Linked DNA regions of Homo sapiens: region 1 is linked to region 2. Evidence: promoter capture Hi-C in 16 types of primary human blood cells and fetal thymus (Javierre and others, 2016). All regions are on one chromosome and are shown on one strand. The core of a region is centred on a gene start or on the middle of the fragment in contact, and the rest is flanking DNA. Distances in the headings are between cores, read along the strand shown. Region 1 holds the start of SRI (sorcin). Region 2 holds the start of CDK14 (cyclin dependent kinase 14).

Region 1 (3,863 bases), core at 804-3,303, 2.4 Mb before region 2:
GTATTTCTTAGAGTACTACCTTAAAAGTGGTCTTAGGTTTTTTATCCCATAATATTCTACAGTTTTCACATTAAGATTTTGCTATTTCTAGCTTTTGGTCAAAACAAAACTAGGTTGAATTCATAAGAACAAACATCTCCTCTGGACGTGTCTGGGTTATACCAACAGTATATTTACTGCACACAGTGACCTCATGAACTAGGGAAGTGTCCTCTCTCAATGTAAGATAGCACCTGTCAATGTAAGATAGCACCTGTCATACAACTCAGAATGCAGACAAGTGAAAGGTCTTGGGGAGCTGACCTTAATTGCTTCTCTGGGTCAACAGGCCAGAACACCTAATAAGGACATGGAGGGGCTGACCTAGTAACAGCATCTGCATCAAAGAGAAACTACACTGTTCACAAGATTAACTTTCTGATACTAAGAAGGGAACAGTAACTTCCTTATTTAGAAGCTGGTGGGTTTTTACCATATTTCCTAAGGGGGTGAATGATTAGCAATCAAGTTCAACCCAAAGAAAGTGCCCATTAGAATCGAGCTATGTAATTACTAATATATGTCTTTAAGTTGTACAAACAAGCGTTTATATTTACCAGATCTTGAATTTTTTCGCTTGAAACCATCCTGGACCCTTTAATTCAACCACAAGTTTGCTTTCGAACTGAACTCACATAAATACGAGTAACACTTTGTCCTCATTTATTCTGAACATTCAGAAATAAAAAACTAAAATAAGAAACAACTTTTTTTTTCTTTTGCAGAAGCAAAGGGACTCAGTACCACAGGAAGTTCGCTTTTCTGTGTCACTATATCAAAAGCTACCACAAATGCAGACAATAACGGCTCTTTAATATTAAAGGGAAAAGCTAACCTGTCCAGCTACAGCAGCAAAGTAACCATACAGCGGATCCTGAGTTTGTCCGGGAAACGCAGGCCCTCCGGGAGCCCCTCCATACTGTGAAACAGGAAACACATACACGTCATTCTGCCGAATCAAGTTTTCTTCTTTCACCACTGAGGGCTTTTGTGCAAGGCCAGACAACTGCCCGCCTGCCCGCCCTTCACAAGGCTCACCTCCCCACCACCGGGCACACTCTGCCAACACTCCACCCCTCTCTTCCATTCACACCCCGTAATTTAAAAACTGGCGACTTAGACCATAAAGAGTTGCTGTGAAAGTGATGTCTACATATGTAAAGCAACTTTTAAAATCCCTATTAACCTGAAGGTTACTGAGGTGAGTGCAAACTAGGTAAGCCAACGAATGGCAGGGCTTCAAATTCTCCTTTTGTTGTTACAGCATTTATGGTATTTTAAGAGCGTTTTATGAACGATGGAAGGCTGGAGTTGGTAACATTCTGAGACGGGTGTAGCCTAGGGAAGAGTAAGGTGTCCGGCCGGGCTGTATCTCGTGGGTGGCGAGGGAACATTGCCTGTCTCGGAAACAGTTCCCAAGACAACGCGCATCCCAGACGCCCGGCGAGGCTGCCTTCCTACAGGTCTTTTACTTCAGCAGGTTTTCCCTTTTTTTCCGTCCCCCTTCTCACTCGTTTTTTGTTTGTTTGTTTGTTTGTTTGTTTGTTTGTTTTTTAAAGGGAGGAAGGTATATCATTCTAGAATAAAATGACTGTTGTTGCTCTGGGAGGCAACCAAGAAGGCGGGGGTGGGGTGGGGTGGGGGTCAGCCAACACCCAATTAACACGATTTCACGCCGCGTATCCGAGAAGCCGCAGGGTGGGCTTCTAGGGTCCCAATCCACCCTCACCTTGGCCCCGCAGGGCCATCCAGGAGAAGGGACGGGGAAACGTGGGGAGAGGCCGAACCCCAGGGGCCTAGGGCGAGGCCGCGAGCGCAGGGAGAAGCCGAGGGCGGAAGGAGCCCGGGTAGCCGCCCAGCAGCGCCTCACCCCGCTGGCCGCAGCATCTCCAAGGTGGCCTCTTAGCGCCCCGGAGCCGCCTGGGCCGCGATCCCGCGCAGTCAGCACTTACCCCGCCTGGGTAGTACCCGCCGCCGGCGCCAGGATGCCCCGGGTACGCCATGCTGCAGACTGCGCCGCAGCCGCCCTCGCCCTGTGCGCCAGGCCTCTCCGCCCCCTGCCCCGCCCCGCCCTGCCGCTAGGGGGCCGCCCCAGAGCGCACCACGCGGGCGTGGGGGACGCGCTCCGCAGTCGTCTCCAGCTCTTGCCTGTGCGCGCGGCCGTGGCTCCCCTGCCTGCGCGCTTCTTCGTATCTTTGCCATTACGGCGCTAATGCAGTGCACGACTGAAGGTCCAGTGGCGGCCTACGACCTGCGAGGCAATTCACACCAGGGACTTTCCTCCCTCCAAAACTAATGGCACATTCCAACACCAATACACCACCCCAGGAATTCTTTTTTTTTTTTTTTCCTTCGGACTTGGCTATTATCTGGCACATTTCTTATTTTAAACAACTTTATTGGACAGGACGGAGCTATTATAAGCGGAGCGCACCATCGCGAGGCAGGGGCTGGATGCGTTAGGGCAAGCCTTAGGTGCCAGTGGGTGAAGGAGTCTTTGAAAGATGGAAATACGAAAGCGCCCTTGGAAAATAAGAATTAACTTGACGAACTGTGTGCAAGGGAGAGTTTGGCTTGCTGTTGGTTGCAGAGTTCACTGAACGACAACGGCGTATTTCCTTCCTAGGGGACAATTCCTTGCCTGTTTAAGCTGAGCGTGACTTGTGTCCTGAGTAGGACAGAGGGCATTTTCCGGGCAGGACAGACTCACACATATCGTTCTTAGGAAAATGAATTGTTTGAATTATCTGGATGATTCAGACAAAACAATCCATTTCCCTAAAAGTATTCAGCTACTTTTTATATAAGAAAAGTTTAGAACAAACTAATAGTGTACTGGTAAGTATTCAGGAAGATAAGAGATAGGAACTTCTATGTAGGTTATTCTTCTTTACTTCATATATTTTTCTATCTTCCAGTTGAATAGTCCGAAGCAATTCAGGCGTGAGCTTTTTGTTTTGTTTTGTGTAATTTCAATGACAGAAAATTGCTTGCCCTTCACTGTTAAGGACTAGACTTAATGATTTCCTGAATTTTAACGTATTGAGAAACGCATTAATAAGCAAGATTCACAGTATTTGTTGTGGAGGTTGCACAGAAACATTTAAAGGGTCATCAACATTTCACAAATATTGGAGCACCCGCCAATGTGGTACTGTGCTTTTTCGCTGTGGTGGACGGGCTTCCTCCATTCTAAATTCGTGGGCTATTGTCCTCATTCGGTTCATTGTTTTTCTCTTGTGTGTAACTTCCCTCGCAAGCCCTTTTGAAAACCAAAGTCCGAATTGTGAGAAAAATTCTAATAGTCCCTGTTGTGGCATAGCAAAGACACTGCATGTTGCCTGTTTTGTGTTTGATTCAGGAAGCAGGTTACTGTTTTCAATCATCAAGGTAGCAATCATCAAGGTAGATGAGACATCTAATGAGTCCCCTGGTCTCTCTTTGGAAGCCTGTTTCTTCAGAAAGAGGTAACCGACTATAAAGAGTAGATGTCAGGGCCGAACTCGATGTTGAGTACAAGCTCAAGACTCAAGTTTGAAAGAAGTATAAAGCATATAAAATATTTTTAAGTACTGCAGAATTAGCTTCGTGGATAAACGGCTATACGAATTGGCATATCAGTTGTCCTTAGACATCTTCCCACTGCTTTACTGCTAAAGAATTGAATTTTTTTTTTAATTACACTTTAAGTTTTAGGGTACATGTGAACATTGTGCAGGTTGGTTACATATGTATACATGTGCCATGCTGGTGCGCTGCACCCACTAACTCGTCATCTAGCATTAGGTATATCTCCCAATGCTATCCCTCTCCCCTCCCCCCAC
Region 2 (3,720 bases), core at 1,034-3,533:
CTATGCATATAGGAACACATAGATGTGTATACATTTTTTCCACAAATGGTTTAAAATATTAAACATGCTTTTCTCCCAAATTAGCCTGTACATATTCACACATCAGTACACACTGATCTCATTTAAGAAAATTGGTGCATACCTTTGTATGCTTTTACCATAATTTAAGAAGAAGCTGACTACTTTTTTTAAGTCAGAAATACTGGGAAGGGGAAGAGCATGGTGGTGGTGCACGCCTGTAATCCCAGAACTTTGGGAGGTCAAGGCGGGCGGATTGCTTGAGCTCAAGAGTAGGAGACCAGCGTCGGTAACATGATGAAACCCCGTTTCTACAAAAATTAGCCAGGCGTGGTGGTGCGCACCCGTAGTCCCAGCTATTTAGGAGGCTGAGGTGGGAGGATGGCTTGAGCCCAGGAGAGAAGGTTGCAGTCAGCCGAGATGGCGCCACTGCACTCCAGCCTGGGCGACAGGCCCTGTCTCGGAAAAAAAAAAAAAAATACTGCGAAGGTAAAATAAACATATATTTAACATATTATATATTTGAAACAGCCATTGTCACAGTGGATAACAGTCACAGGTGTATAATAGTGAAAGTTCGTTAAATTAATATTTCTTCGTGTTTGTTGACTCGTACAACCCATTAGTGTTTTGATTGGTTGCATTTGTCTTTTCATTCATAACTGCTGAAAACTTTCTCCCTAACTAACCTGAGGAAGTGGTAAAAGTCAAACTTTTTTCCGGTATGAGGCCACCCTTGGTGCTGTCTGTAATTATCTAGACATGGCAGCCAGGATCCAACAGCTTTGCGTTTTAACTCATATGGTCTTTCCTGGCGAATTCCTTGCCCCCCTCTGCTCCCCACTTAGCTTGACTTCCTGTCTTTTATCATCCGCAATCTATCAAGATCCTACAATGTGCTCAGTGTAGGGCGGAACAAATCACTGTTTTACCTCACAATTTAAGGAAGGCAGGGGGCTAGTTTTTAAGATAAAAATCTTTTAACAAAACATAAACTCCCCAAAATTTCCTACAAGCCAAACAGCATTGTCACACCCTCACAAGCTCTTATTACTTACACAGCCAAATGACTCAAGATTACTAACGTTTCTATTCATAAGGAGTTTGCTGGCCTCAGATCAACACAATCAAGCCCTCCCCCACCTTCCTTCTCTCTCCCCTGGGAGACTGACGTTTGGAACTCACGCCGCACCAGGTTTTTTCAGAATGAAGACGATGTGTGTTCGCTGCTGGAACTGTTTGTCCTGGGATTTTATAAACACCTCCCCCACTCCTTTTTAAAGTTCTGTTTTTGAGGTGGGGGAAAAGGAGGTCGGAATCTGTTTAGCCTTTAAATCTCCCAATTCAGAAATATATTCTAAGAATTTAATAGAAAAAGACCAAGGGCTGTGTCTGCTATTTACTGCAGAACTGGGTATTCCTATCAGAAATCACCTACATGTGTCACCAAGATCAGAGACAAGGATGAGGGAAACAGCATGATCCCTGCCTTCTGGAGGGTTACAGTTGAAGCTTCCGCTGCTTCTGCACTTGACCTCAAAACAAACAAAAAACCCACCGCAAACAACAACAAAAAAATCCAGGCCCACCTTTCCCCTTGGATCTTTCACTTGACAGCTTTCTCGGCCCAAAATAAGGCACCCTACATCTGAATGCATCCCTAAGGCCTTACCGCACCCAGTCCAGGAGGCAGTCCTGGCAGCTGCCCTCCACCGAACTCCGCGCTTTTTCACACACGCTCGTGGAAGGAGAAAACCGCTCAAACAACTGGACTCGGCCCGTTTCCTTTCGGTAACCTCCCCACAGCCCAACACGCTGTCCCCAGACGCTGCCCGCTCCCACCCCGGTCCCTTCGTGATCCTCCCGCGCGCGGGCGGGGCGGGGGAGGAGCGCGGGGGCGGCCGGGAGGGGCGCGGCCGGGAGGGGGCGCCGCCGGGGCGCGAGCCAGACACAGAGGGCCGCGGAGGACGCGGGAGGCGAGCGGGGAGCCGAGGTCGTGCTAGGATCCCGCGCCCAGGGGCCTTCGTCGAGGGAGGGGCGTGGCGGCGGCAGCAGGAGGGCAGCAGGAGCTGTCAGGCTGGCGGTTCCGCGCCGCGGCTCCTTCTGCGCTGCGCCCGCAACTCTGGGCTGAGAACTTCTCCCGCCGGCCCACTCGCCCTCGCCCCGCGCACTCGGCGCCAGGCGACTCCCGCACCTTGTACCCGGCCCGCCCCGCCTCCTCCTTCGGCCGCACCACTCCCCCTGCCGGCCGCGCTTCTCTCCGTTACAAAGGAGGGAAAATGAGCCGGGCGGCGGCGGCGCGGCGCGGGGCCACCACGGCGGCGGCGAGCGCGGCCGCCCCCGGCACCACGTAAACCGCCCCCGCCCGCCCAGCTGCGGCCCAGGCCGGAGCGGAGCCTGCCGTCCTCCGCCTGCCTGCTGCTCGCCTCCCTAGACCTGCGCGTCGCTTCCCGGCCCGCCGAGGAGGTGGTGGAGGAGGAGGCGCCGCTTTCCCCGCGGCGCGCGCCCTCGCCGTTGTCTGAGCTGTGCCTGGACCAGTTTGGGGAAGTTGTCGGGGCTCCGCGTCGCCCAGATGTGTGACCTCATTGAGCCGCAGCCGGCCGAGAAGATCGGCAAGATGAAGAAGTTGCGGAGAACTTTGTCGGAGAGTTTCAGTCGCATTGGTGAGTAGCGCGCTGCCCCCGGCCCCCCCAGCGCCCGCTCCCCTCGGCCTGCGCCCCCGCCGCGTTCCTGGCACCAGCCATGCAGCTGCCAGCGGGGCTGGCGTGGGGTGCGTTGTAGGCGGGGATCGAGGGCACAGTGCTAGGGACCCGGGGGAGGGCAAGGACGTAAAGGAAAGAGACCCCTCTTCCTCAGGATCTGGGGGTTCATTTGTAGATTCTCTCAAGCCTACAATATGGGTTCTCCCCTCCTCCGCCACTAGTGCTCGCCCTTTCGCGCGCGTGGGGGACGGGCGAGGGGACCCCTCGGCCCCCACCGCGCAAGGGGCTGCGCGGCTGCTTGGGCCACTTGTTATTTTTTGCGCACAGGCTTGGATATTGGGCGTTTAGTCAGTAATTTAGCTTTGGAAATTGGTGAAACGTTAGACTGTGCCCTGGTATTGTTTAACGTATCCAACCTAAAGGGAAGTGGGACAGTTACCTTGGGACCTATTGTTCGGTACTTCGGGTCCTGGAAAGCGAGATTTGGGTGTTCAGTCTCGAGGTCTCTGAATCTTCCCGCTGCTGGAGAGAAATGCGCGCTGTGGAGTTGTCTGGACATTTAGGAATGTCTCTCGAACTTGTTCCATTTAATAGAGCTCAGGGGCTGTTGTCTTTAAACCAAACAACAAACCAACTGACCAACAGTGTTTAGGACAGTGACGAATAAATGCATGTCACAGGTTGTAATAGGGTGACAGCAGTATCACGTGGAATGGGTTTGTTAGATTTTGAGTACTGGGCATAGAAAACCCCTTTTAACCTGAAGAGTTAGCTGCCTCCCCTACTGTCACAACTTTCACTAATAACATGTAACTGCCCTGAGCAAGAGAATGCTATAGACACAAAAGATAACCCCTGCGAGTCCCTAGGAAGCTGCCTAGTCTTTGTTTCACTTGTTTTAAATGTCATCCATGTTAACGAAAGTGTTAATGGAAATTAAACATAAAGGTACTTAATTCCTTAAAATAAAACCCTGGGATGCACATGAGTGTTACAGATA

Evidence for each region. Contacts are between HindIII fragments. The CHiCAGO score rates a contact against its expected background, and 5 or more counts as called.
Region 1: a contact is called between the fragment with the promoter of SRI here and the fragment with the promoter of CDK14 in region 2, in 1 of 17 cell types (neutrophils). The highest score is 5.1, in neutrophils.

What each region holds. Positions count from the first base shown.
Region 1 is chr7:88,217,985-88,221,847 of GRCh38, forward strand. It overlaps SRI (sorcin), which reads right to left and starts at 2,054. Exons shown (of 8, transcript NM_003130.4): 1 at 1,992-2,054; 2 at 875-958. The coding sequence starts at 2,042. SRI-AS1 (SRI antisense RNA 1) reads left to right here. Exons shown (of 3, transcript NR_120517.1): 2 at 765-1,240. RefSeq lists silencers at 1,040-1,129, 1,777-2,276. The HindIII fragment of the contact is 22,346 bases long and covers 1-3,863 here.
Region 2 is chr7:90,594,038-90,597,757 of GRCh38, forward strand. CDK14 (cyclin dependent kinase 14) reads left to right here and starts at 2,284. Exons shown (of 15, transcript NM_001287135.2): 1 at 2,284-2,681. The coding sequence starts at 2,591. RefSeq lists silencers at 1,892-2,091, 2,112-2,421, 2,612-2,811, 2,872-2,921. The HindIII fragment of the contact is 4,165 bases long and covers 1,529-3,720 here.